Linked DNA regions of Homo sapiens: all the other regions are linked to region 1. Evidence: promoter capture Hi-C in human tissues and cell types (Jung and others, 2019). All regions are on one chromosome and are shown on one strand. The core of a region is centred on a gene start or on the middle of the fragment in contact, and the rest is flanking DNA. Distances in the headings are between cores, read along the strand shown.

Region 1 (4,882 bases), core at 1,247-3,746:
ACTTTTCGTGGCGCGTACACGGGCTGGTAGATACAGTTGTCCCTCTGTATCCGTGGGAGATTGCTTCTGGGACCCCCAAGGATTCTCAAGTCCCATATATAAAATGGCTTAGTACAGTTAACAACAGAGACGTGTTCTGAGAAATGCATCGTTAGGCAATTTTGTCCTTTGCAAACATCACAGGTATACTTAGCACAAACCCAGATGGTCTAGCCTACTACACACCTGGGCTATATGGGATAGCCTATCGCTCCTAGACTACACATCCATACAGCATGTTACTGTGCTGAATACTGAAAGCAGCTGTAACACAATGGTAAATATTTGTGTATCTAAACATAGAAAAGATCCAGTACAGCTGGGCGCGGTGGCTTACGCCTGTAATCCCAGCACTTTGGGAGGCTAAGGTGGGTGGATCACCTGAGGTCAGGAGTTCAAGACCAGCCTGGTCAACATGGTGAAACCCCCATCTCTACTAAAAATACAAAAATTAGTGGGACATGGTGGCATGCACCTGTAATTACAGCTACTGGGGAGGCTGAGGCAGGGAGAATTGCTTGAACCCAGGAGGCAGAGGTTGCAGTGAGCTGAGATCGCCCCATTGTACTCCAGCCTGGGCGACAGAGCAAGACTCCATCTCAAAAAAAAAAAAAAAAAAAGTCCAGTACAACTACAATATCATAATCTTATGAGACCAGTCTTTTTTGTTTTTATTTATTTATTTATTTTTTGAGACAGAGTTTCGCTCTGTCGTCGAGTCTAGAGTTCAGTGGTGCAATCTCGGCTCACTGCAAGCTCCGCCTTCCGGGTTCACGCCATTCTCCTGCCTCAGCCTCCTGAGTAGCTGGGACTACAGGCGCCCGCCACTGCGCCCGGCTATTTTTTTTTTCTTTTTGTATTTTTAGTAGAGACGGGGTTTCACCGTGTTAGCCAGGATGGTCTCGATCTCCTGACCTCGTGATCCACCCGCCTCCGCCTCCCAAAGTGCTGGGATTACAGGCGTGACCGCGCCGTGACCTCCTGTGGATTTTCATGGGACTCTGAGAGGCGCCTCAAATCCATTTTGGAATAAGGCAGGTTATTAGCATGGGGTCTAACCGTGGGCTGTCTCGGTGTCCTGGGCTGGCTCTTGGGGCGGGGGTCCTGATGTCCGGGACCTCGGTCCTACCTGGGAGGCACAGATATGGCGGGGAACGGGAAGCCCGGGGGAGCATTTAGAAGCTCGTGTGCACAGGGAAACCCTGTCTCTACAAAAAAATTAAATTAGCGGGGCCCAGTGGTGCGTGCCTATGGTCCCAGCTACTCGGGAGGCTGAGGTGGGGGGACTGCTTGAGCCCAGGAGGTGGAGGCTGCAGTGAGTCATGATCACCCCACTGCACTCCAGCCTGGACAACAGAGCAAGACCTTGTCTCAAAAAAGACCCCAGGCCAGGCGCGGTGGCTCACCCCTATAACCCCTGCACTTTGGGAGGCTGAGGTGGGCGGATCACCTGAGGTCAGGAGTTCGAGACCAGCCTGGCCAACATGGTGAAACACCCGTCTCTTCTAAAAATACAAAAATTAGCCGGGCATGGTGGCGTGCACTTGTAATCCCAGCTACACGGGAGGCTGAGACAGAACTGCTTGAACCTGGGAGGCGGAGGTTGCAATGAGCTGAGGTCGCACCACTGCACTCCAGCCTGGGGGACAACAGGGAAACTCCGTCTCAAACAAAACCAAACCCCAAAAGTTCTCGTCTAAGTCCTTCTCCCAGGACAAGGGCACTTATCTCTTGGCGGTGCGTCACAGGTAGGGATATTCCGCGATCCCTCACCTTGACCCCGCTACGAGGACAGCCACCTCTTTCAGGTAAAGAGATCGCAATGGGAAATCATTCTGATAAAAATTCCCCTGTGGAGAATGCAGGCATCGATCCCGTTACCTCTCACATACTAAACGAACGCTCCTCCACTTAAGCTGATTCCCTAGCCCGGCCTAACCTTTGCAGCCGGCGCATATTGTGGCTCACGTCACCACCGGTGTCCCCCGCCGCCCCCGCCCCGCCCGGCCAGCTCGCCACCCTATTGGATCCCTCACGGCTCCGGCTCCACGGCCATGATGGGCTTGGCTCAATTTAGTTTTAAAAAGCATTGGCCACTCGGATTGGTGGTCCGAAGCGTCCGTCAAGCGGAGGACCTGCTGTTGCTACGGCGTAGGGGGTCCCAGCCAGGTTTCTCCCCGTTTCTGATTTGTTTCTCAGGCTCCGGGGTCCTAGAGGTTCCGGATCCGTCAAGTCCATGGGAAAAGAATGCGCCCCTCGCGCTTGACTGACGAGGCTTGCGGGCCAATCGGAATGTAGTCAAAGGAGCCGCTAGGCGATCCAATAGGTAGTAGGGGGCGGGAGAGAGGGGCCAATGAGCCTGGAGCTGGGGGCGGGGGCAGGGCCGCGATTGGCTGAGAGGCGGCCAGAGGGCGGGCGGGGGGGAACTCAAGGCCTGCTTGATACGTCCGCCATTTTGGGCGCTTCGCTGATGGTGTCGGTGAGCGCGTTTCCCGCCTGAGCGCAACTAGCGGCGGGTCGTGGGCACCTCCAGGTAATGGGGGTAGGGGAGGCGCCGGAGCAGGCCGCGGCGCGGGGTGTGCGAGGCGCGCGGGCAGGCGCGGGGCCCCTCCACCTGGCCTCAGCGGCTCAGGGAGGGAACGTCCCGGCCCCTCTCCCCTCCCCCCCCGGAATTCGTCGCTCCGCGGGCCCGGGAGGCGCGGCGCCGAGTCCTTCCCGGCCGCTCCCCGTCCGCTCCTGTTAGCCGGGGGCCCCGCCAGGACGGGCGCCGGGAGCGGGACGCGGTCGGGGCGGCGACTTTGTGCCTCGTTGACGTTCGCGGCCTGGCGCGGCGGGCGGGCGAGGCGCGCCCCTGACCCGGCTCTGGCTCCAGCCTTCCCGCCCGCCGGCCGCGGCCCGCAGTCTCGCCCCCCGCCCGGCCCGCGCCCGGTCTCCGCTCCCGCTGGGCCTCCCGGGGGCCTCGGGGAGCGCGTCAAGTTGAGGCAGCAACTCGCCGTCAAGAGTCGCGAAGACCATTGTTGGACTCTGCTCTTCGGGAAACAAGTTTTGTGGGTTTCTGTTAATTCGCCGCAGAGTCATCGGGATCCACACCAGCCAGTTCCGAGGCTCCCAGTACCCTTCCCAGTGGCTTTTTAACTCCTGTGAGGTGGCTTGTATGTAAACTGTCTCGAATGCCTCCCTGGTGTATTTGAGCCGGGGGTGGGGGGGGTGGGTGGTCCTTCTTGTGGCTTGAAGTCCCTCCCTCTTAAAGAAGCCCATTCACTGTTTACTTGGAGGTGTTTCCTGTTGAGGTCCTGCTGGCTGTGATCACAATTTAGACTTTTTAATTATAGGTGAACGGGATGGGTCTTTGGATGTACCTCCGTGCCCTGACGTTTCAACCGCGTGACTTAATGTCATTTTCCTGGTACTTCACGTTTTCTCTGTGGGGCTTTGGGTCTGTTTTGCTTTTATGGGAGGGGGTGCTTGACAGGCGTTCCCTTTCATCCTCGCAGCACTTGTTGACGGGGTGGTGTCCTTTATTCGTGGGACGTTTACTTTGATTTTGTCCTCAAGGTCATGTTGCAGATAGGCTTCAAGGGGGACAGGGACTCCAGGTTTCCAACCACCGAACTGTGCCTCAAGTAGCAAGTGTATGAGACCCAGTTATGGTGGTGGTTGGGTTTTCCTCACTGTGGAGTGGAGTCAGTGACCACTTTTTAGCTCTGTGACCTTGGGCAAGTTACCCAGCTTCTCTTTTTTTTTCTCTGTAGTATGGGAATAATAATAAGTGTCCCAGCCATAAGTTTGTCAGGATAATTGCCCTAATACATGTAAAACAGCTAGAGCTGTGCCTGGCACATACAGTCACCTCAGTGGCTGATTAGTGGTTAGGCTAGTTAATGGCTATTATTGTTTAATTTAAATTTGATTTTTAAATGTTTAGGTACTATTGGGAAGTCAGATGAGCATTTGAGTCCCGACTCTTGGTGACTGCCTTTAGAAAGCTCTGTGTAAGACTCAGTTGGGCTGAAAAAGTAAAACTATAAGTTATTTTAATTTTTTCAGGACAGGGTTTTTGACCATTCCTTAAATTAGGAACATTTACCGGAGTAATTAATGAGTAGTAGCGCCTCATAATGTTTAAAGAGATGGTTAAATACAGAAAAGCCCATCACAAGCTTAAGTCGGGCTTTGTTCCTCATGTGCTTTTGGATACTAGTTTCTGGGTGACTGCCACCCGAATCAGTAACTAGGGTTTCTTAGTGTAAGTCCTCCTTGTTACTGAAAACTGTAAGGGTGCCGTGGATTGCAGTATTCTTCAGCAAAGATAGTTTGGGAAATAGCTTTTGTCCTGGAGGGATACTTTGGAAGGTATTCTCCACTTCAGCATGTCTGGTCAGGGAGTCTAGAACATTGAACAAAATGCCTGCACTCAGTCAGAAATAAACTCACAATCCTTTACCGCTTGCCCGATACTCTCCTCCATGGTGCTCGAAACCTTGCGTGCACCTTCCCCTGGTATTGTTGTGTTTACTTGGGACTTGGTTTGCTGTATTGGAGATGTGTGTTTTGATGGACTCAGTCTTAAGTAGAGATGAGTATCTTGCTGGTGGAACTTAAGGACAGGAAGAAGATTGTTTTCGGTTTAGAACTCTAGCCTTTGTGTAAAGTATAGCAAAGCAAAGTCAACAAGCAAAAAGTTGTTAGTTTCAATGAACTAATTGAGAATTTGAGAATCAGACCATAGCTGAGCAGAAAATGAATAGAAGTAACATTGACAGGATGAGGTTGCCTAGCTTTTTAAGATAAAGCTTTGGCCGGGCGCAGTGGCTCACGCCTGTAATCCCAGCACTTTGGGAGG
Region 2 (4,882 bases), core at 1,187-3,686, 340 kb after region 1:
GGGGGCAGGTGTCAAGCATCTTGAGGCTTATTCAAAGTAAAATGCCCGTGAATGAGACAGAAAATCATGCCCTGAATGAGCTGAAGTGGAACCCCGAGCTACGCAACACAGACAGAGGTCACTGAAGGTCAAGCATCTCTTGCTCACCCCATCCTGCCAGTGGAACAGGGGCCGTCATCAGCCCTGATTTGCAAGCGTGGGCACAGAAGAGGAGAGATGGGGTGGGCCAGGTATGGTAGCTTGTGCCTGTAATCCCAGTACTTTGGGAGGCCAAGGTGGGCAGATCACTTGAGGTCAGGAGCTCGAGACCAGCCTGGCCAACATAGTAAAATCCTGTCTCTACTAAAAATACAAAAATTAGCCGGGTGTGGTGGTGCACATCTGTAATCCCAGCTACTCAGGAGGCTGAGGCAAGATAATTGTTTGAACTTGGGAGATAGAGGCTGCAGTGAGCTGAGATCATGCCACTGCACCCTAGCCTGGGTGACAGAGCAAGACTCTGTCTGAAAAAAAAAAAAAAGAGCAGAGATGGGAAGACCTTACCAAGGCCAACAGGGACTCAGTAACCAAGCCTGGATTCAAACCCTTAACCCGAGAAGTTTTTGCTTATTATTATAGTTTTAAAATTGGAGTCCCAGGATGTGGAAAAACTAAAGCACCCATGCACTGCTGGTTAGAATGCAAAATGGTGCAGCTGCGTGAGAGTCTCATGGTTCCTCAATGAGTTACCACGGAATTCCCATGAGCCAGCAATTCCACTCCTGGATACGTCCCCAACAGCGGATGAACAGGTGGATAAACTGTGGTCCTTCCATACAATGGAACACTATTCAGCCACAAAAAGGGATGAAGTTCATCCATCCTACAACACGGGTGAACTCTAAAGACATGCTAGTCACAAAAGGCCACGTGATTCCATTTATGCGAAATGTCCAGAAGAGGCAAATCCATACAGACAGACAGGAGATTAGTGGTTCTGAGGGGCTGGGAGAGGGAGGTAGAAGGATGGGGAGTGACTGCTTAGTGGCTATGAGCTTTTGGGGGATGAAATGTCCTGGAACGAGACAGCAGTGAGGGCTGCGCAACATTATAAATGTACTTAGTGCCCCTGAACTGTACACTTGAAAATGGTTAACAGTACAATTCATGTTGTGTACATTTTACCATAATTTTTTTAAAAACAAAGAAATGGAGCTGCTCCCTCTCCTTTTGTTCAATTAAAGAAAAAAAAAGACCGAAGCAGGTAGATCACTTGAGCTCAGGGGTTCAACACGAGCCTGGACAAGACAGTGAAACTCCGTCTCTGGAAAAAAAAAAAAAAAATAGGGCCAGGCGTGGTGGCTCACACCTGTAATCCCAGTACTTTCGGAGGCCGAGGCAGGCAGATCACGAGGTCAGGCGATGGAGACCATCCTGGCTACAGTGAAACCCCGTCTCCACTAAAAATACAAAAAAAAAATATTAGCCAGGCGTGGTGGCAGGGGCCTGTAGTCTTAGCTACTCAGGAGGCTGAGGCAGGAGAATGGTGTGAACCCAGGAGGTGGAGCTTGCAGTGAGCCAAGATCACGCCACTGCACTCCAGCCTGGGTGACAGAGCGAGATTCTGTCTCAAAAAAAAAAAAATATTGCCATATGTAGTGGCATGCACCTGTAGTCCCAGCTACTCAGGAGGCTGAAGTGGGAGGATCATTTGAGCCCAGGAAGTTGAGGCTGTGGTGAGCCAAGATCGCGCCACTGCACTCTAGCCTGAACAACAGGGTGAGACCCTGTCTCAAAAAAAAAAAAAAAAAAAAAAAAGAAAATGAAAAAGAAATGAGTAGCTTTGAGGATGAAATGACAGGCTTTCTAGGTAGTGCCTTGCCCCTGGGGGCCTGGCTTTGAAGTGCGGCTGCTGTGTCAAGAAGCACCCTGTCCTCAGACCGGCTAGAAGCTGACTATCACCCCACCCTCAGCTGGTGACCCTCACCAATCAGATCAAAAACATTCGCCACCCAGCAACAGATGAACGGATAAATAAAATATGGTCTAGCCATGCAATGGAATACTATTCAGCCATAAGAAGGAGGGAAATTCTGACACAGGCTGCTATGTGTATGAACTTTGAAGACATTTTGCTGAGTGAAAGAAGCCAGTCACAAAAGGACAAATATGATATGATGCCACTTATATGAGGTCCCTCAGATTGGCAAATCCAGAGGCAGAAAGTAGAAGAGAAGTTACTAGGTGGGGGGAGGGAAGAATGGGGAATGACTGCAATCATTTAATACAATGTTGTATTTAGTAATTATGTAAAGTAGCAAAAACTGGCCTGGTGCAGTGGCTCATGCCTGTAATCCCAGAACTTTGGGAGGCTGAGGCGGGTGGATCACTTGAGGTCAGGAGTTCGAGACCAGCCTGGCCAACATGGTGAAACCCTGTCTCTACTAAAAATACAAAAATTAGCCGGGCGTGGTGGCAGGTGCCTGTAATCCCAGCTACTCGGGAGGCTGGGGCAGGAGAATCACTTGAACCTGGGAGGCGGAGGTTGCAGTGAGCTGAGATTGCACCACTGCATTCTAGCCTGGGTGACAGAGGGAGAGTCCATCACAAAAAATAAAATAAAATAAAATAAAATAAAATAAAATAAAATAAAATAAAGCTTTAAAAAATTCACAAGCAGTTTCTCTATGAAACCTGACACTTTTTAAAAAACACCTAAGATGCAGCAGTGATGCATTGGAGAAAAAAAAAAAAAAGAGTTCCTATGAGAACCCTACCAGGCACACCGCTGAAGGCTACTTGAGCCAAATGGCGGTGACCTAGTTCATCATAATTAAGACCTAAGCCTTAATCCACAGATGGCTGGCATTTCAGTGTGAGGCCTAAGCCACACCTACCCTGTTCACAGTGTCTTTGACAGCCGGGACCGGCAGGCGAGGCAGCGATGTCTGGAAGCTGTACAACATGGGTTTTCGGCCTGAAAAGATCTTGACCATACCCTGAAGAGAGAGAATTATATTTTCAGACTACTGCCATACTACTCTGAAGGCACCTGTTCTCGTCTGATCTCGTGAAGCTAAGCAGGGTCAGTCCTGGTTAGTACTTGGATGGGAGAATGACCATTTCAAAGACAAGGCTATGTTAAAGATCCGAAGCCACTTTTCCCGTGCGCACAATGTGCCAACCACTTACTGATTTTCTGTGTCGATTTATTTTTCATCTGGTCCATCTTTTACCCGCCCCATACTTACAGGTTCTAGCAAATAAGCATATAACCCTGCCCTCCATGCCAATAAAAGCCTGGGCAACATGGCAAAACCCCACCTCTACAAAAAATTAGCCAGGCATGGTGGCATGTGCCTGTTGTCTCAGCTACTTGGGAGGCTGAGGTGAAAGGATTGATTGAGCCTGGGAGGGTGATGCTGCAGTGAGCCATGATCATACCACTGCACTCCAGCCTGGGCAACATAGTGAGACCCTATGTCAAAAAGCAAAACAAAAACAAACAAACCAAAAAACCAGGTAGAATCAAAGCCAAGCCTGACAGAGGCCGTGAGATGTCGCTGCCAGCGTCGTGACTGGCCAGGACCCTGACCGTGCTTCTGCACCTAGGGTGAGTCTCACCCCACCTCCTTCCGCAAGGCCCTTAGTTTCGGGATGGGCTCCAGGCTCTAGGAACAGTGAGGAGGGTCAACGTGCCTGGCCCTGAGCCAAGCCGAGGGGAAGCAGTTTCTTTCCTTCAGTCATTGCCAAGTCTCCCAAAGGACACATCTGTGGCCCTTGGTTTTAGGCTGGATGATCAAGCCTGTATAATAACCAGTCACCTCAATGGCAACCAAAACAAAGGCAGTCCTTGGGCCCAGGCGGGGAGTCTTGGTACTGCAGGGCATTGGGACTCAGCTGAACCTCAGCTGTGAACCCACTGGAGGGAGTGCCCTTTAGCCTGCTTTGCCAAGTGTGGGAGCCACCCCTGAGTCTCTTCTAGGTGTTAAATTCTGCTTCTCTAGAAATCAGAAATTTTATATCCAAATGGTAGAAAATTGATTTGAGAGAAAAAATTGGTTTGGCTGGGTGTGGTGGCTCACGCCTGTTGATCCCAGCACTTTGGGAGGCCGAGGAGGGTGGATCGTTTGAGCCCAGGAGCTCGAGACCACCTGGCCAACATGGCGAAACCCTGTCTCTATTAAAAATACAAAAAATTAGCTGGGCGTGGTGGTGTGTGCCTGTGGTCCCAGCTACTGTGGAGGCTGAGGTGAGAGAATCGCTTGAGCCCGGGAGGCGGAGGTTGTAATGAGCCGAGATTGCACCACTGCACTCCAGCCTGGGTGACAGAGCAAGATGCTGTCTCAAAAAAAAAAAAAAATTTGTTTGGCAAAGAGTGGAGTCCCGGTGTGTGGTGGGCACTGCAGTGACTCCCATGCTTCTCTCACAAGCAGGCTCCCCCAGAGGTTGGGACAGCAGCCCAGTCCAGGCAGGCACCACTGTGGGGGCCATCCCGAGGCGACCAAGCAGAAGGGCACCGGGGCCAAGGTCGGGGCAGACAAGAAACCAAAGCAGACCCACGGCTTCGTATACACCGGCAGACCCACGGATCAGCCCCATTCGAGAAAGATTCTGCAGAAAATGTTTCCATGATGACCTGGTCCATTACAACCATTTAGGCCACTTGGCAAGACAGGGGTGAATAAAGCAGATGTTTCTTTACACACATCTGGCCCCAGAAACCCAGGTTGGGCTTGAGGTGCCGAGCAAAGCCCAAGGCCCAGGGCCATGACTACAATGGGCAGATGGTACACGGGGCACACACCCGCCTGCAGGGGGTCACAGGGGCCCCAGCCCCCCAGACGGAGGCCTCGAAAGTCCAGAGACGATGCCCATCTTGGAGGGTTGATTTTCAGAAAAA
Region 3 (4,882 bases), core at 1,833-4,332, 310 kb after region 1:
CACTTTGGGAGGCTGAGGCAGGCGGATCACTTGAGGTCAGGAGCTCGAGACCAGCCTGGCCAACGTGGTGAAACTCCGTCTCTACTAAAGATACAAAAATTAGCCAGGTGTGGTGGCAGGCACCTGTAGTTTCAGCTACTCGAGGGGCTGAGGCAGGAGAATCACTTGAACCTGGGAGCCGAGTGAGCAGCCGAGGCTGCAGTGAGCCGAGATCGTGCCACTGCACTCCAGCCTGGGCAACAGAGTAAGGCTCCGTCTCAAAAAAAAAAAAACAGTGTGAACTGGGAACATCCCTTCCTCTATGGTTCTGAAGTTTTTTTTCATCCAAAATCATGGCTTTTTCTCCCTCTCCCTGGGGAGGAGTTGGGGGGCGAGTGCTCCTCGGCCTTCTTCCCAGAGTCCAGTCTGCTTTATACACGTATGCCTGGAAGGTGGGGCCCCAGATTCTCGTTTCTATTACATTCTCTTATTATATTTCCCACTTGGCCATCATCCTTGTGCAAGAAAGCTGGTGGTCTTTGTGCAACTCTGCGCTGGGCCGGCTCACTGGGTGTGCCTCTTAATCGTCAAAGCCTTTCTGCTGTTCCATCTCCTGAACAGACATAAATGTTCTTCCTGCCCAATTACCCTGTCATCTGCTAGAGGCATCCTCATCTTTCTTGTTTTAAGGGGACTGCCTCCCACACTTTTACTTTGAAGCAGTAGCTAGCTATTAATACACGATGCCACTTATCCTGTTAAGGAAAGAGCCCTATTACTAAGCCCCTTGACCAAGAGCTCTTATCAGGAATGGATGTTAAACGTGAAACGTCTTCTTAGGATCTGTGAAACTCACTATCTAGGCTCTTCTCTGACCCAACAGTATGGTTTAGTGTATGACTGGATTTACTGACACAAAACCAGCCTCTCACCGCTGGTGTACGCCACTGTGGGTGACTATTCTTTTCCTACAGTGCTGGATTCTAGTTGCTAAGATTTTATGGAGGGTCTCTGCACTTCCATTCATGCGGGAAGCTGGTCTGTGCTTCCTTTTTCTGCGTTTAGCTGCAGCACAGTGATGAGAGCCACAGGTTCTCGAACAAGCCTGCCTGCTTCCGATCTCAGTCCTGCTGCGTACGAGCTGGAGCCCTCAGGCAAGATGCTTCACCTCCGAGTGTGGAGGGCAGAGATGAAGAGATGCCTTCCTCGGGGCCGTCCTGAAGTTTCGCTCGCTCCTGCCAAGTACATGGCACAGTGGCTGGTGCCCCTTGCAGCTCATTCCCACACCTGGGCCACGTGGGTTCTGGGGAGCAGATGGGGTGGCTTCCTTTGTGGAGTCTCTGAGCTGCAAGCTCTTTGGAGTCACAAGGGTGGCTCCCTGACAACCTCTCACTTTGGTCCCTGGACCAGAGGCCTTTTCAGGTTTTCTACCTTGAGTCAACGTCACCAATTTGTACTGCTTGCAGAATAGTCATTTCAGCATGTTTCAAAATGTACTAAACTGGAGCGTGGCATTTCCTTACTAAACTCCTAAGTCCTGCGCTTACTTGCAGGGAATTCTTTTAAAAAAGAAAAAAATTTAAAAAGATAAAATAACATCCTTTCTGTAGGTAAGGTATCAACTGCTTGCATGCCCTCATACTGCACGTTTACGGGCAAAATCTGCTCATCAATTCTCAAAATCCAGCTCACTGATTCTGAGATGCGATGCCTCTATTCCATGTCACCTTTTAATCACATGATCTTTAGTCAATGATCTGTCACAGACAGGAGCTTGTCACTGTGCTCCTGGTACTCTGCCCAGCTGCTTCTGGTTTACGCATAGTGAGCATGTTACTTGGGAAAGCAAGGCTTCATAACTGTGACAGTCTTTACAGACTGTATTAGCATGCATTTTAAATACGATTTTGGCCCATTCATTCCAGTTCATCTGATATTAACACTGCCTCTTACTTCTCTGTAACTGTTTTCTTAACTTTAGGTGGAGAGAGCATAGACTCTGGAGCCGCTGGCCCGCTTTATCCCTGCCTAGTGCCACCCTGGCAAGCACCTGGCCTCTCTGCACCTGTTTCCTCACCTGTAAAATGGGAAAACAAGATTTTCTGAGGCATAATGGGGACTTGTAAATTTTTAAAAATGGGATAACAAGAGTGCCTCCCAGGTGCAGAGACAGTGAAGCATGAGGTACATGATGCACCAAGCAAAATTCAACAATGGCACAATCGTTACCAAGGTTGGGGGGGCAGTGCCACACGCTGCATATGTGTACAGCACTCAAGTTTTAATACAAGGCTGGGCACGGTGGCTCACGCCTATAATCCCAGCACTTTGGGAGGCCAAGGCGGGTGGATCACCTGAAGCCAGGAGCTCGAGACCAGCCTGCTCAACATGGTGAAACCCCATCTCTACTAAAAATACAAAAAATTAGCTGGGCATGGGGGCGCACACCTGTAATCCCAGCTACTCGGGAGGCTGAGGCAGGAGAACTGCTTGAACCCGGGAGGTGGAGGTTGCAGTGAGCCGAGATCATGCCATTACACTCCAGCCTGGGTAACAAGAGTGAGATTCTGTCTCAAAAAAAAAGTTGGGAATATCTCAAGCCAATGCCACGATGACTTGTGCTGCCCCCAGAAACCAAGGGCCCCCTGTCTGGGATGGAATGCTCCCTCCAATGGACAAGAAGACCCATTTATGTCCCTGCTAGGGGTGCAGGCTGCTCCTCCAACAGGGGTTGCCAGGTGCAAGCCAAAATATGGCCAGTGCTCAGAAAAGGGAGATGGAAATGCCATGTGTATACAGGGGATCCAGCCCATGGCACCTCCAAGTGGCTGGAGTTTCTCCTTTTATGGAAGGAGATGTCAAAGGCCAGAGACGTTAAGTAATTTGCCCAAAGACATCACTTAATAGCTATATAATATTCCACTGTATGAAAATACCAAAATTTAATTTAGTATGGTGAAAGGAAGATTTACTCTGCCAAAAGGAAAGGATTAAGCTGAAAGCTAAGTCATGCAAGAAGCTTTTTATTTTGTTCCCAAGCAGAGAGCGACAGATGAAACGTGGACCATGTTCACCTGACCTGTGTGAAGTGCAGATTTACCGAGCGCCAGACGAATACGTAACTGACTATTCCCCTACCTGCCCACACTATTTCCACTTTAGCAAATGCTAGGATTCGGGGCTTATTATGGGGCTTAACTCTCCCTCTGTAGAGTGATGAGATCTCACTTTGTCCTCATCCCCCAGACTCTCCCTCTCCCGTGTCAGCTGGGAATCTACGCCTGCTGGAGGGGGATTTGCGAACTTTGCCCGCGTGCGTGGTGAAACACCCAACGCCACCCGGCCCCCGGAGACCGGGGTCGGGGGGAGCTGTGCTTCTCCTATGCCGGGTTTCGGGCCTTCCCTCCCCACTGGGTGAACAGTCTTGGGCAGGTGTAGGAACCCCCAAAGTGCTCACGACAAAACCCTAGGCGGTCAGTTCTTACCTTGTAGTGCGCCAGCTGGAGGGCCAGCTGCACAAAGGCGTCTGGGCTCGTGCGACATTTCTTGATGATTCCTTTACCAAAGGCTACGAATGGGAAGGAATGGAAATCCACGTCGTTTGCCAGAAGATTTGCGGTGTTCAGGGAGGTCTCTATAACCTCTTGACACTTGAGAGAAAGAAGAAAAAGGTTTTACGGAACGAGGGGAGAAAAGTACTGACGCACACCCAGAAGGAAATTGGAGGCTGGTTTTTAGTGCAGCTATAAACTCGGTACTGGGAAGTACACAAACGTTTTCCTGACCCAGAAGCCCTAGTAAGTTAGGGGCATGGCTCCCTGACCCCGGAGGAGCAGCTGCAATGTTATAGCAGGTAGCGGGTCTGACATGAGCAGGCCAGGAGAGGGCTTCCTCCGACACACACTGGGAATATCACGCGACCATCAGTGATGGTCAGGTGGTTGTGAACTGTCTCTCTAAAATAATAATAGGTCACAGCCGGTGCCAGGGAAAGGCAGTCTCTCAGTAGATAGAAATGGAGCTGGTGACCAGCAGCTTCCCGATAAGATCTCAAGCGTTGGGCGAGTGGGCTGAAGCATGCGCACTGAGAGGCAAAATGGCGGCGTCTAACTGGACTATGAGCTTCCTCCAGCAGTGCTAGACAGGCAAGGGCAGAACACCTCAAGTGAGCATGCGCACAACTCCAGTAAACATACTGCGCATGCTCCCTTCCCAAGCGCTGGAGCCACTGTGCATGCGGACAGCCCACAACAAGGGAGGAATTGGGAGAAGTAACACAAGACCCTGGACGCATGCCAATGTATAAAACCTCAAGTCAAGAGGTCAAACCTCGCACTTAATCTCCCAAGTTGGCCGCTTGGCCCTCTTCCAAATGTACTTTCCTTCCTTTCGTTCCTAAAGTTTTTAAAATAAACTTTCCCGCTTTTAAACTTGGTCTCTCCTGCCTTCTGCCCCACAGTCAAATTCGTTCTGAGAAGGCAAGAATTGAGGTTGCTGCAGACCCGTACAGATATGTTCTGACGCTAACAGGAACATGGGTAGGGGACGGGGGCACCCTGGCTTCCAGTGAGACCCCAAAGGGTGTTTCAAATAGTCACACGTCATCTTATGATGACGTCATCACACAGTGGCAATCAAGAAACACATTTTTTTACTTTTTATTATTAATTTTTATTTATTTGAGATAGGGTGTCCCTCTGTTGCCCAGGCTGGAGTGCAGTGGCACCATCGCTGCTCACTGCACCTTCTGCCTCCCTGGTTCAAGCCATTCTCCTGCCTCAGCCTCCGGAGTAGCTGGGACTACAGGCACTTACCACTATGCCCGGCTAATTTTTGTATTTTTAGTAGAGACGGGGTTTCACCATGGTGGCAGGCACCTGTAATCCTAGCTACTTGGGAGGCT
Region 4 (4,882 bases), core at 32-2,531, 300 kb before region 1:
TTCCCTACACTGCTTCTCTTTGAAGTTCTTTTCTAATTTATGGGGCATCTATTCATTTTTGAGGTAAGTAGTTGCACGGTTAAGGAGCTTTTCACAGCAGGGACCTAGATTCCACTCTAAGCTTCTTAATCTGTCGTGACACTGGCCCAAACGAACGCTTTCTTCTCCTGATTTAGTAGTTTCCCACATAAAAGATTTCAAAGAAAGTTAACATGGTTTTTTCCTTTCACAGATTCTCCTTAGTCATTTAAAATGTTTCTAAAATCCATTGCTCATTAACCTAAAGGAAGTACAGCACTTGGCCATTAACATAGAGTAGAAATAGAATACTCATGGGCTCTAAGGAACAAATTCTATCGCAATGGTTTCAAACAAGAAAAACAGATGCTAAGAACCATATATTATCACTCTGAAAAGTACAGTCACTACCGAAAAAGAAATGCACTATTCTAAGTTGTCCCCTTCAACTCCGTGAGGAACAGAAGAGGCAACCAGTGGGCTGTCAACTTAGAAGAGCTGCAAAGCTTACTCAGCCCCATCCCTTCAGTGACGGCCAGATGCCAACAATCACAGTGAAGGAAGATGCACGCTGCTAGAATTGTACACTCTCAGGACAAAGGGAGATCCAACTTCTTTCCTCCAAGGCCAGGATAGAAAAGGGTTACAATGACCCTAATGGTAATGACAACCTGAGTAGTGATGAATATGATTCCATTTGAGAATGAGCGTATTCTTATCCACTGGAATTATACAGAACTACTAGGTAGAAAATATTTTTTAAAATATAAGGATATTTAGATAATTCTTTTGCTACAGAATTTCTTTATGCTTACGAGGCTTGCCTACAAGGTGGATCGAATAGACGTGCTGTCAATATAAAGAATAAAGTTGAATGGCTTCTCAAAAGGCTTCATTTGTGACTCAAGCTTAAGCTGCTCCTGTAGTGTCTCTGACCTTGCCACTGACTTTCTGCTATGTTAATTTTTCCTCTGTATTGACATTCCAGACTATTATTTATAGAAGTTGTTACACAAGTCAGTTTCTCAATTACTTAGTTCTTGCAGGTCCAGTTGAAAAACTTCTTCCTAATCAAAACACTCCATTTACAGATTCACTAGAGAAGCCACGATAACAAAACGAATCATCACCACCTCTCATCAGAACAGGGAGGATAAAAACAATAAAACATGGGTAAGCTCAGCACACTGCCCAACCAAGTGAGGACCAGGATCCTGCAGAGAAATCTGTCGCTTTCTACATGCCTCAGGTTGCCAGGGCAACTGCCATTCCTTCCGCCCAGCTAAGCAAGTAAGTTACCATAAGTTCAGTTTTTATTGAGAGAGGAGCAAGAATGCATCACAACATTCCAAAAATATCAAACCACCAAGAATAGAAGGCTCTGCACCTGAGGTCAGGAGTTCGAGACCAACCTGGCCAATATGGTGAAACCCTGTCTCTACTAAAAATACAAAAATTAGTCGGGCACGGTGGTACGTGCCTGTAATCCCAGCTACTGGGGAGGCTGAGGCAGGAGAATCACTTGAACCTGGGAGGCAGAGTTTGCAGTGAGCCAAAATCGCACGATTGTACTCCAGCCTGGGTGACAAGAGTGAAACTTCCTCTCAGAAAAACAAAAACAAAGAAGGTCCTGCACGCACAGACTGGCTCATAAATGGCTTCAGGGTACATAAACCAGCAGAATTCACAGCAAAGGGATTCACAGTTTGAAACAAGAACATACTTACACATGTGGGCTGCTACCAAGGTGGCGCCTCTTTTTAGAATAGTAGGAGTAGTGAACTTTGAATGTGATTCAATTTGAGAACGAGTGATTTATTATCCACTGGAACTATACAGAACTATGTGATAGCAAATTTTTTTTTAATAAGAAATTTAGAAAATAAGAAAAAATAGGGAACTCTTCGGCTAAAGGGTTTCTTTATGCTTGCCTACAAGGTGGACTGAATGGACGTGCTGCCAATATAAAGACACTAGTGAAGAAAGGACTGCACTGCTTGGCTTCCCTTTGCTTGGCTCTCTCAGATGTGGCTACGATGATCCTTTGCTCATTCTATGCCTCCTCAAGGACTAATTTATGACCAAACTTAGTGGTTTCCAACCTTTGATTTCTCCTCTTTCCATTCCACTCTCATGACGTACCTGCAAGCACCCTTACACAACACTCACATCTATGTCATATTCTCAACAGCAATCCCCGCCATCTGGATCCAGCCTGCTCCTCCAATGAGACAGCCTTTGGTGATCTGACAACTTCTTGTCGTCAAACCCAGCACACACTCCTCAGCCCTTCCCTTTCTTCATTTCTCTGAATGTGACACTGATAACCACTTTTTCTTGAGAAAACCTTTCTTCTCTTGGCTGTCAAAGAGAGCGCACTCTCCTGGTTCCCTTCTCCATCCCTGGCACCCTCCTTCATCGGCCCCTTAGACTGTTCTTCTTCAGGTCTGTGTAGTCCTAGGCCCCAGGTGACAAGCACCCATTCTCGCACGGCTATTACCACTTACAGGCTGACAGTTCCCGAACTCTGGCCAGACCCGCTCCTAACTTACAGAACCAGGTCACCAAATACTGACTGTCTCTAAGCCCCTAAATGGAACTCACCATCAAGTCTCCTGACGACGTCCCCTTTCGAGGTCTCCATCTTGGTCAATATCACCACCACATGCCCAGCTGCCAAAGCAGAAAGCTGGAGGTCCTCCTTGACTCCTGCTCTCCTGAACTGCCTCACCAAGCCAATCACCATGTGCCGTGGAGTCCACCCCTGCAATGTCACTGCAACCTGTCTACTCTTCCCTGTCTCGAAAGCCACAGCCTCCTGCATGAACTATGGCAGTTTTGTTTTTCCTATTGTTTTCCCAACAATCCGTTTACCACCACATAGCCAGGATGACTTTCCTAGTGTATCATGCAGCTTCTGGGCTTTAAACCTTTCAGCAACCTAATGCCCTAAGAATGAAGTCTAGAATTTTAACCTGTGCTCACATCTCTTCTTCTTAGCCTGTACTCGCCATGAAGAAAAGCTTTGACTCAAACTCCCCTCTGTCTATAGAGCTGTCTGAAAGGCCCTCTGCTTTGAATAGGCTTCACTTGGCCAACTTCTCATCCCCCTGTAAGACTCAGCTTAGGCAACACCTCCCTGAGGGAGCCTCTCGGGACTTTCTCTGCAATGCCTTTCCTATGTCTTCTCACAGCACCCAAGAAGCTCCTTCCTTGGTACTTCTTATTTTCACCCGTTGGATGACTCCCATTTTATGGTGATTCTGAATTCGGCTCTCCCCATCCCATCCCTCCTTCCAAAACATTCACTGTTGACAACAGAAAACCAAAGCACTTTTATGTGTTTGTCTCTAAACTAACATAAACGCTCCATTTTTGAGCACAAAATGGGTATGTATTTGATGCTATGTATTACATCAACACAGAGATTTCACTTACATGTTACCAATGTATTCTAATTTTGTTTGAAAAGCATTATCTCATCAAAAGCCCTGTCAAAAGGTATGCTCATCAAATCAAAGGAAAAAAAAGACAGGCAAAGAATTTGAGAAATGTGACAAAGATGAGGACCCAGTAGAGTGACAAGAGTCCTTCACTGTCCAAAGAAGCTGCACTGTCCTGGCAGGGGTTGAGAATTTCAGACAGTGAAGGCTAAAGGAGGAAGACAGTGGCCACAATGACAAACTAAAAGTCAATGATTTTAAAGTCCATCAAGAAACCAAGGACTATGACCTAAGTGGGGTCAGATGCACCTGTGTTTGAGCTTGCTGTGGCACTTATATGCCTCGTATGACTCTTCCCCTAGGGGCTGGGACAAATCTCAAATACATGGACCTGGACTGTAATTTTAGGTGGGGGTACACATTCTTCTCAGCAATTACTACATGCTAGGTGCTGTGCAAAATGGCCACATTCATCCTAATGAACGCCGTTGGAAGGGAAAGCGATTAAAGCTATGTGAAAACCAAGCTTACACGAACTAGCATGCCTAAGGTCATCCAGCTGGTGAATGGCAGAGATGGGACTTGTTAGGCCTTCCTGAGCATTAAAATCACGCTTATGCTGCCTATAAGGCATATACAGAAGAATTATGGTGTTGGCCTCAACTTACGGGTAAAGGCCCCACTGCATGGCTATTATGGTCATTTCAGGGTGTCCTCAAAATCATAAGGCAGGGTGGCACAAGACTTCCAGTCAGACAAAAGAGCTGTGACCGACACCAAAGCCTTCCTGAGCACTCAGGCCGCACTGGAAATGCACAATCAGCGTGAACTAAGATAATACAAGGGCCACAGCTGAGCATCTCCAGAGCTGGAGGATCCAGAAGGCCTCTGACAGGACTTTAAAGACCTCGGTCTCAAGGAGTTTACTTGGCACAAGCAGCTTTCATCTGACATGACTAGCACAGACTGCCAATGGCTACCTGGAACGGGGTGTTAGAATTTGGAAGCAGCCCGAAGGCTCAGCAGAAAAGTGTTCAGATCAACTCTTGACATGAGTGACAGGGCAGGAGTGAGGAGCAGCGCCCCAGCCTCTGCATCTAGGACAGGTGCTCCATAGTTAAGATCAACTTCTCCCTCTGGCCGATTCTTCTGGGGCTTGTCCTGACTTGTGGCACCTGCAGAGACCCGTGTCCGCATCTTCACAGACCGCTCGCGAGCCTCTCTCTGGTCTCACCTTCCCTATCACAGCACTAACTTCAGAGGGGGCAGCCCAGTCAGCGAGGCATAAGAGGCCTGAAAAACCAGAATCCTCCAGTCCTGGCATTCTAATTCAGACCTGTGGACTGGATTTGTGAAAACGGATTCCTTGTTGTCTCTACTTCTGGATGCTAAAGCAAAGTCACACCATAGCTCTCAAGGTA
Region 5 (4,882 bases), core at 974-3,473, 280 kb before region 1:
TATACAAGCCTTTACAGACAGATAAATGCAAGTCCTTTAAACAATTCAGAACGTCTTACTAGTCTGTCGACATATGGTGTCAGAGAACCACCATGAAAATAAAGAGCTGTAGAATTGGGAAAGCATCCAAATATCCATACTCAACTACTTGTAGCCATCACAATTGATTGTGTCAAGATACCATCTCCAAGAAATCCAATGGAAACCATTCTTGCTGCAATCCTACACTACATGGTTATTTGCACATGAAGGACAGATAAGACAACAAAGCAGCTCTCAGCTAAGGCATGACCTGTCGAGCAATATGAAATATGAAATATGAAATGGTGGGAAACAGATAACCCGTGCTTTGTGTGGCAATCAGAAAAGCAATAGTTCACTTTAAGCAAATGCAATAAATTATCCATGCCGTTAAATGACAGGGCTACAAACGACAGAAAGGGCCAAGCTATCTTTACACGTTCAATGTGAAAGTGACCAATGGGAACATTATACAAAAGTAAGTTATAGACCTGGAATGAAACTTGGCTATTTTTAATAGGCTTTATGTGTGTTCTATGCTTTCTGAAACAAGTTCATTCCTATCTAAAAATGCCTTCAGGTAACCTTGGTTTTGTTTACTTTTTATTCATAATGCCAAACAATTTACATGCTAAAACCAACACAAAATAGTCAACTCTTGATTTAGTAGTATTCTGCCTACCTTCCCTGTGTTGACTTCTGTTTCTGCTTTCCTGACTTTATTGCCTCAAACATAAATAAAACCCCTGAAACTATCCCTTGCTACCAATAGCAAGAACCTCTATTTCACTAAAAATATAAGTTGCTGTCCCAAACCTGTTAAAACTTACTGTCACAGTTGGCTGCTATGGGCATGAAATGACAGTAAGGAAAAGGGGGAAGAAAATGGTTAAGGGTGCAGACAGGCAGGAGATGAGACAGTTGTTTTCAATAATCCTACAGAAGTATGTAAAAGTCAGCTGGCTGATAGTCCAAATCAAATCCCATTGTAACAAATACTGTGGAAAATAAAAGTTAAGACTGTTATACCTATTAGGGCTGGTGCAAATGCACTGAAAACCTTAGGGAAATTTTTTTTTTTCCTATTATTGAACAGAAAAATACCCTCTCTCCTTAACTATAATCACTCTAAATCTCCCATACAAACTGCATAAAACTATCCTTTTACTCTGACACTTAAAGGCCAGATAATTTAGAACAGCCCTTTTGTTCCACAAATGAGGAAAATAAGGCCCAACAAGGCTGAGTAGATTGCCAATGACTTAGGGTTAATGAATGGAAGACCTGGGATTTACCCTGGCCTTTCTGGTTCCTGTTATATCACCTGGCTCAGGAGAGCCTTCCTCACATTGTTTCATGGTTAGAAGAGGATTTGACTTGCGTTTGCCATTGAACATCAGCACTGGGCCCAGCCAGAGACAGCTCTAGCTTGTATACTGACAATACAGTGGAAGGGATGGACGCAAATGTGAATTTTAAAATTTCGTATTTGGGTGGGGGGGTGGGTGACAAGGGAGGCAAGAAAAACAGTTATTTGGCATTTCCAAACCAATATGCCCCGTCCTCCCTCCCTTAATAGAAAATTTGCTACTTTAAATCAACCAAACATATCTATTTTTTCTCTTTTTACACTTCCAATCAATGGCTGGTATAAGAAAAATAAAAATGTCATTTACAATTGATTATTATTAAAGGGGCAGGAAAAAAACATATGAATTCACACTCCCACACACCTGTTCCCCACTCTTTCCAGAGACTCACTTCCCAGGTTTTCTTGCTATTTGGTTTTTCTGTCTCCCCACTGTGGCAGTGAAGAAAAGTTGTAGACTGTATTAGCTGTGCTACTGTGCCCTTCATTAGCATGCACAATCAAGAGCTGACTGGAGGGGTGGGGAACAGGAAGGGGAACAGAAAAAAGGGAGACAGGGAAGGAGAGAGGAAGAGAGAAAAATGCTCAAATATTTAAGATATAAAATAAAACCATGAGGCAACATAGTGAACACATTTCCCCCTCTGAAGAAAGTTTAGCTGCAAATCCACAGTTTGTAGACGCTGAGTGAGGAGTCGCAGATCAGCTCTTCAGTCCTTCTTGACCTGAAAATAAACGAGAACCAAAAACATACCTGGCTGAGTCCTGCAATCAGTGCTCAGCTAATCACATGGAGTGACTCCTGATCTTTTGAAGAATGATTTGTTTCTCTTAAAATCACCCTGTTATGAAGTACAAGTGGTTTTTTAAAAAATACAACTATTATCAAACTACTTTAAAAGGTTTGTAAAATGTTCTAAAACTCTAATTTATGCTGACACTTCAAATTACTTAACATAAAAGAACATTTTAAAAGGCTAGAATGGGTTAGTCAGTATCTCATTGTTTTTAACACACACTACCTACCTCACAGGGTTGTTGTGAGAAAAACTGTCAGATTTTGAAAAATGCCTTGAGCTCCTCGAAGGAAAGGCGCTATATAAATGCAAAAACAAACAACAAAAATAAAAAGCTATTTGTATAATCTGTACTTGTAATTTCTAAACAGACTTACAATATTCGTTGTTGCAAAAATCTTTAAAACTCTGTGATAATCAAGAACTTTAAGATACCACAGGTGGGCGCGGCAGGATAGAAGCCATGCTGCTGAAATTCTCTGCTTCCCATAGAACACACCTTACCATGAAGTTAGAAGCTTTGAAAACATTCTTTACGGATTCTAGTCAAGCACTTAATTTTAAAATGATATTTAAAGTGATTCATATTCATATCCAATAGTGGATATGAATAATCAAATACATATAAAAGTGAAATAAAAATTAGATGGTTATAACAGTAGAAAAATGAGTAAGGACTGTACAGGCTGACATTCTGATTAGAAAACCAAGAAAAGTTGAAAAGAGAAACTCAGTGCCCTGAAGTGACTCCCCTGATGTTTAAATGCTGTCTCCTGCTCAGCTCACTGCTGGCCTGAGTCGCCTTCGCGCCTCAGGATACTGTGACATCTCAGGGTCATGCAGCCTCAAAAAGGGGGCATTACTGAAAGCATCGATCCCTTTCTTAAAATATCCCGCTCCCACTCCATTTAAAAACCAGAGGTATAAACAACAACTCTTTTTTTCTTGTTAAAAAGAAAACTTTAGGTTTCATAATTGACAAAAGTCAATTAAGTTCAAATTTCTCCCAATAAATTGAAATTAGCATTTTGTTCGTACTATTTCTAAGTATTCATGCTACAACTCTTGCTTGTTAGTAAATGTAAGGATATATTAAGATTAAAACCTGTGCACTCAAAACATAGCCAGTTTTGAAAATTCTCCAATCATTAAACATCTACTCTTTCTTTTTTCTTTTTTTTTTTTTTTTGGAGATAGAGTCTCACTCTGTTGCCCAGGCTGGAGTGCAGTGGTGTGATCTAGGCTCACTGCAACCTCTGCCTCCCAGGTTCAAGTTATTCGCCTGCCTCAAACTCTTGAGTAGCTGGGATTACGGGCACGCACCACCATGCCTGGCTAATTTTTGTATTTTTAGTAGAGACGGGGTTTCACCATGTTGGTCAGGCTGGTGTCGAACACCTGACCTCGTGATCCACCCGCCTCGGCCTCCCAAAGTGCTGGAATTACAGGCGTGAGCCATCACGCCCGGGCTAAACATCTACTGTTTCTAAACATTCTTCCTGTTGGTAGACTGAAAGAAGTAAAAGGAAGGGAAAAGAGTATAAAAAAGAGAAACTAAAAAGTGACAAATTACAGGTGCATAAACATATGAACAAAGAGCGCACTATACAAGGAACAGGCAGAGAGCTTAGAAAATTAAAATCCAAGAGCAGTACATCTTCTGGTCACTTCTTTTGCACCCCAAAGAGAGAGAAGTCCATAAACTAACAATTTAAGAAGTATTTATTGGCTATTTACTACCTTAATTAAGCATTATCAGTTTTCCTTATTTTCTAAAGTCACATTCTGGTAAATTCTTGCTCAAAAGATGAAGAGCTAGAAGGGATAGTTTTATTTTCAAGTAAATTCACTAAGGTTAATTGAAAACATATACCTTTCACCAAGATTATTGTAAAGGTCATTAATAAAGTTTCTGTTCCCAAATATCAGTGTACACAAGAGTGTAAAAGCACACGTAAACGGAACACTCTGGTGGGAAGTAGGCAGGCCGTCCCCTGCACTCCCACACCGGCCTGAAGTGCTGGCATTGCTAGGAACCCAGGCTGCTCTAACCAGGGCAACAGAATCGTCTGTACTTCCACAGGTTATTTTAGGAACTGTATAATTAAATGTTGGACTAAAAAATACTTAAAAAATGATTTCTTCTGCAAGTTTAACCAGCTTTAATTTTAGATGCTTCAATTCTATGGGGAAAAATCTTAGGCACTGGGTGCATTTTAACTTAGGAGTCCTCAGTTAATGTCTTGAGTTCCAAAAATATTTGTGTGGTAATCCTGAAGTTTACATTTATGACTACATAGTTTTACGTGAGCCCTAGGAAACTCCTAGTAAGGTATTTTTATCCACTTAGCACGTCACAATGAAACTGAGAGGCCAGATGTTTTAGGACCTAGCTATTCCAAGTGTAGTCTGGGAGCTTGTTAGAAAGGCACAATCTCAGGCCCCACCCCAAAGCTACTGAATCAGAGCCTGCATTTCAACAAACTCCCAGGTGACTCTCATGTAAACTAATTATAAGAAGCAATGGTATAGGAGGACTTTTACAGAAAACTGGAGTGCTTCCTTTTGTTTTTTAATATAGGGTTTCACTCTGTGGCCCAGGCTGGAGTGCAGTGGTATGAATACAGCTCATTGCAGCCTCGAGCTCCTGGGCTCCAGTGATCCTCCCACCTTGCCCTCCCAAAGTGCTGGGATT
Region 6 (4,882 bases), core at 1,350-3,849, 260 kb before region 1:
TTAGGAGAAAAGGCATAGAATTGAACAGCAGTATACTTTTTTTTTTTTTTTTAAGAGACAGGGTCTTGCTCTGTCACCCAGGTTGGAGTGCAGTGGTGTGATGATGGCTCACTGTGGCCTCAAAGTCCTAGGCTCAAGCAATCCTCCACCTCAGCCTCCCAAAGTGTTAGGATTACCAGCATGAGCCACCACACTCAGTAAGAGCAGTGTACTTTTGAGGTATAAAGTACAAAGAAAGCTTGAGAAAAAGAGCAATGGGTGGTCCATTGGGAGCCTTGGATCTTGGATCCCCAGCAGTTTTGCCTATGGACTCTAAAATGGACTTCATTTAAAGAAACCCATGGAACAGTAATAGATAAAAACATAAAACAATATGAATTGTGGCATTCAAATCCTAGCACTTCGGGAGAGCATCAAGTACCAAGTTTTTTTTTTTTTTTTTTTGAGACAGAGTATCGCTCCCTCACCCAGGCTGGAGTGCAGTGTCCACGATCTTGGCTCACTGCAACCTCCACCTCCCAGGTTCAAGCTATTCTCATGCCTCAGCCTCCTAAGTAGCTGGAATTACAGGTGTGCACCACCATGCCCGCCTAATTTTTGTATTTTTTAGTAGAGACAGAGTTTCACCATGTTGGCCAGGCTAGTCTTGAACTCCTGGCCACAAGCGATCCTCCCACCTCGGCCTCCCAAAGTGCTACGATTACAGGCATGAGCCATTGTGCCCGGCCAAGTGTTCAAAAATTATAGCCTACTATCACAATGCATTGAAGATTTGAATTTCAATAACCTCGTCAAGACTTAGATCTTTAAAAGCTTCAAGGTTCATCTGCATTAAAGCTCTCCATCATTGAGCCATCTCACAAAAGTAAAAGCTTAAAGGGACTAAAATCCGTGACTACATTCCATTTTATATCCCTTCCTCAGTTTTCTTCAATTTCCTTGACCCCTAGGGTCTTTCATATTACTTATGTTCCTTTAAGACAAGAGCCAAAGAAACAGCACTTTCTGAAAAACAGATGTTCTGTGGCTATAAGCTTTCATTGGTACAGATGCATAAACTTGGCATGATAAATTTAGAATTAGGTTTTTTGTTGTATCCTATAAAAAGCTGCATTAACAACAAGCAAATGGGCCAGGTGGTGGCTTATGCCTATAATCCTAGCCCTCTGGGAGACCAAGGCAAGAGGACTGCTTGAGGCCAGGAGTTCGAGACCAGCCTGGGCAACACGGCAAGACCTCATTGCTACTAAAAATAAAAATTAAAAAATTAGCCAAGGATGGTGGTATGCACCTGTAGTTACACTCAGGAGGCTGAAGTGGGAGGATGGCTGCAGCCCAGGAAATTGCGGACACAGTGAGCCATGACCATGCCATTACACTGCAGCCTGGGTGACAGAGTGAAAAAAAAGAAAATGATGAAGTGGTAAATTTATATAAATGTATTTTATATTTCAAGTTAGATTATACTCTCAGAAGCTATGTGGTTTACAGAAAATAGCCCTCTCCTATCCCACCTCTGTCTCTTACTAGGCAGTTGGTAACCAACAAAGTCACTTAACCTCTCTGAACCTTAACTTCCATTATCCAGAAAGTGAAGCTGATCATATTTTCCCCATCCACCTCACAGGGCTGTTGTGAGGATCACATGAAATAATGTACCTAAAAAAGTTGTTTCTATAAAAGGTACAACACAGATAGATCCAGGGTCCTGTTACATAGTTGCAAGTCACACTCTTATCTCCAGGGCCTGGGAAGGTAGGTGATTTAAGCACACAGAAAGCACCTACCATGTCCAGGGCACATACATGGTAACAAGATTATGTTATTTTCCTCTGAATACACAGAATACTACCATGGGCTAATTCTAAGGAGCAAGACTGTAACTTTCCCTAAAATTATAGCTCAGCATTCATAGTGCTCTAGGGCAATTATGGGTTGTAACATATTAATGGTTTGCAACATTTTTTTTACTATGTTGTGACCAGTAATTTTTTTTAAATGAAAGAACACAGAGCAGAATATTTCACAATGCATCCCACATAGTAAGTTTTGTTTTAGTTATATATGTGTAAATGTGTGTATACTTGGTCATTAAATAAAATGAATTTTTGGCCAGGTGTGGTGGCTCATGCCTGTAATCCCAACACTTTGGGAGGCCCAGGTGGGCAGATCACTTGAATCCAGGAGTTTGAGACCAGCCTCGCCAACATGGTGAAACCCCGTCTCTACCAAAAATACAAAAATTAGCTAGGTGTGGTGGTATGCGCCTGTAATCCCAGCTACTCAGGAGGCTGAAGCAGGAGGATCACTTGAGCCCAGGAGATGGAGGGTGAAGTGAGCCAAGACTGCACCACTGGACTCCAGCCTGAGTGACAGAGCAAGACCCTGTCTAAAATAAAATAAAATAAAATGCATTTTTTTCCTGGGGGTGTGGGGAAGGGCAATGCACCATGCCTTTCTCCTCTGTCTGCCTGGAATGTTATAACACCATCTCTTTGCCTAATTCCTTAAGTCCCAGTTCAGTGTTCACATCCTCTAGGAAGTGTTCCTTGACATTCACTGCCAAATCTAGTTATATACTTATGCTATAAAACTTAAGTGAAAGCCCTTATGTGACTATATTGTTTAAGTGTCTGCTTCCTTAATTGAGAGTTCCTAAGGTTGAGAATCTATTTTTCTTATCTCTGGCCCTTGTGTATCTAGTATAGCACACAGTACATCCTAGAGGCACTCAACTGATGAAATAAATAGGTTGTATTCTAAACTGCATCATAGAAACTATATTTCTGCATTAAAAAAAACTGTAAATTAAAGATACTTCCTGACCTCTTCAAATCCTCTCCTTTCTCAAAATGTCCATGGTGTGTAAGGGGGTGAGAGAAGCTCCTGCACAGACAGAAACAAGGCAGGAATCACAGCTGCTACCACCACTAACTTCCCTACTGCTTGCCATTATACTTTCTGGTTTACTCCCTAGTCCTTGACCCTCCAGAGAAAAAGAACCAGGACCAGGAAAAGTGCTTTTGGTCCTTTAGGAAATCATCTGTAGAATGCCTGTGTTTAACACACAACTTATGGATAATCATGGAACAATGTACTTTTAGGCTTCTCAGGAGTCCTAATATACCTCAAAAATAAGACATAAAGCATAATTATATGAAATAGAAATAAAATATATGGAATAGAAAGGTTATCCATGGAGAGTCTTTTTTTTTTTCTTTTTTTGAGACGGAGTCTCGCACTGTCCCCAAGTTAGAGTGCAGTGGCCCAAACTCGGCTCACTACAACCTCTGCTTCCTGGGTTCAAGCGATTCTCCTGACTCAGCCTCCCGAGTAGCTAGGACTACAGGTGCGCACCACCACACCTGGCTAATTTTTTTTTGCTATTTTAGTAGACACGGGGTTTCACCATGTTGGCCAGGATAGTCTCGATCTCCTGACCTCATGATCTGCCTGTCTCGGCCTCCCAAAGTGCTGGAATTACAGGCGTGAGCCACCACGCCCGGCCATGGAAAGTCTTTAAGTCCCAACCAAGATGTCTACTTGAGAGAAAGCAGAAAATTTGGGGATGAGGCCCAGCAATCTGTGTTGTAGTAAGACCTCCAGGTGATGCAAGCTCCAGTGTAAGAGCAATCGCTCTAATTTACTTATTCATTTTATCATGTTAGGGCAAAGAATAGATACAAAATTTTAAGAAAAATTATGGAATAAAAAATTAAGGAAATTATAATATCAACCAAACATTTTTCTGAGAATTAGGAAAATTCACCAACAAATCACTTTAGTAATAGCAAACTTTGGTTCAATTCATGGAACACAGACTGAGATCCACTCTAATGTGCACATAATTTAAATTAAATGTGGGTTAATGATCCAAACTGGAAAAAATCTGTGCCCTCAGATCTCATTTATATTGTGATCAACTGATATTATTTGAACTCAAGGTAATTTAATCTAACAGGTACTTCTGTCAATCACAGAACATGGCTAAATTTCACTAGTATGAATGCACTGCACATGTCTGGATGTAGCCTAGCAGAGAGAGATTCTCCACAGGTCCATATGATAAAAGCTATCAAAAGATCTTTCTTAAACTGATAAATGAAACATTTGTAAAAACAATTCTAATGAAGCTATCAATAATTTGGGGGCTATTTAAAAAAATTTTCAGCTCAAAATGAATATATATTGTACTAATGATCAGGTCATCATTTGTTCTGCCCTCCTAAGTGTGGAATCTGTTCTTGCTGGCATGATCTTTCCTCTAAGACCACACGTTTACACATTAAAGGTAGCGATGGGATTTTAAAAAGCTAACACAAGTCGATACTGTAGTAGAGTATAGACAAATAGGGGTTGAAAACATCCCAGCACTTTGGGAGGCCAAGGCGGGCAGATCACCTGAGGTCAGGAGTTCGAGACCAGCCTGGACAACAAGGTGAAACCCCATCCCTGCTAAAAATACAAAAATTAGCCAGGCGTGGTGTCACATGCCTGTAATCCCAGCTACTTGGGAGGCTGAGGCAGGAGAATAGCTTCAACCCAGGAGGCAGAGGTTGCACTGAGCCAAGATTGTGCCACTGCACTCCATCCAGCCTGGGCGACACAGCAAGACTGTGAAAAGAAAAGAAGAGAAAAGAAGAGGAAAGAAGATGAAGGAAAGGAAAGGAAAAAAGACAAGACAAGACAAGACAAGACAAGACAAGACAAGACAAGACAAGACAAGACAAGACAGGGCGGCTAGCAAAGCCTAAATGCTTCATAGCTACCACAGAGGTGCCCCCTCCCAACAAACACACAAGGGTGCAGACTCCCATGGGACATAGCTGGCTCACGTGGAAATGTCCCCATGGTCACGGTTTGGCTGACACACTCTGAGCTA

The links. Contacts are between HindIII fragments. The study calls those that stand out against the background at their distance.
Region 2: a contact is called between a fragment that was not itself captured here and the fragment with the promoter of PPP6R3 in region 1, in 1 of the 25 tissues and cell types used here (aorta).
Region 3: a fragment that was not itself captured here is called in contact with the fragment with the promoter of PPP6R3 in region 1 in 2 of the 25 tissues and cell types used here (bladder and spleen).
Region 4: a fragment that was not itself captured here is called in contact with the fragment with the promoter of PPP6R3 in region 1 in 2 of the 25 tissues and cell types used here (dorsolateral prefrontal cortex and spleen).
Region 5: a fragment that was not itself captured here is called in contact with the fragment with the promoter of PPP6R3 in region 1 in 1 of the 25 tissues and cell types used here (dorsolateral prefrontal cortex).
Region 6: a contact is called between a fragment that was not itself captured here and the fragment with the promoter of PPP6R3 in region 1, in 1 of the 25 tissues and cell types used here (dorsolateral prefrontal cortex).

The regions. Positions count from the first base shown.
Region 1 is chr11:68,458,256-68,463,137 of GRCh38, forward strand. It overlaps PPP6R3 (protein phosphatase 6 regulatory subunit 3), which reads left to right and starts at 2,497. Exons shown (of 24, transcript NM_001164161.2): 1 at 2,497-2,572. RefSeq lists silencers at 1,908-2,057, 2,368-2,737, 2,748-2,797, 2,848-2,957 and an enhancer at 2,168-2,227. The HindIII fragment of the contact is 5,146 bases long and covers 1-4,515 here.
Region 2 is chr11:68,801,124-68,806,005 of GRCh38, forward strand. It overlaps CPT1A (carnitine palmitoyltransferase 1A), which reads right to left. Exons shown (of 19, transcript NM_001876.4): 5 at 2,877-2,978. Among named protein-coding and RNA genes, the nearest start is that of CPT1A, 38 kb to the right of the region's middle. The HindIII fragment of the contact is 6,052 bases long and covers 1-4,882 here.
Region 3 is chr11:68,769,801-68,774,682 of GRCh38, forward strand. It overlaps CPT1A (carnitine palmitoyltransferase 1A), which reads right to left. Exons shown (of 19, transcript NM_001876.4): 14 at 3,465-3,629. Among named protein-coding and RNA genes, the nearest start is that of TESMIN, 21 kb to the left of the region's middle. The HindIII fragment of the contact is 3,959 bases long and covers 1,104-4,882 here.
Region 4 is chr11:68,159,324-68,164,205 of GRCh38, forward strand. All of the region lies in intron 10 of KMT5B (lysine methyltransferase 5B), which reads right to left. Among named protein-coding and RNA genes, the nearest start is that of CHKA-DT, 40 kb to the left of the region's middle. The HindIII fragment of the contact is 4,466 bases long and covers 1-3,514 here.
Region 5 is chr11:68,177,716-68,182,597 of GRCh38, forward strand. KMT5B (lysine methyltransferase 5B) reads right to left here. Exons shown (of 11, transcript NM_017635.5): 4 at 2,417-2,485. Among named protein-coding and RNA genes, the nearest start is that of KMT5B, 33 kb to the right of the region's middle. The HindIII fragment of the contact is 8,126 bases long and covers 1-4,882 here.
Region 6 is chr11:68,193,765-68,198,646 of GRCh38, forward strand. The region is part of intron 1 of KMT5B (lysine methyltransferase 5B); the gene reads right to left. Among named protein-coding and RNA genes, the nearest start is that of KMT5B, 17 kb to the right of the region's middle. The HindIII fragment of the contact is 6,067 bases long and covers 1-4,882 here.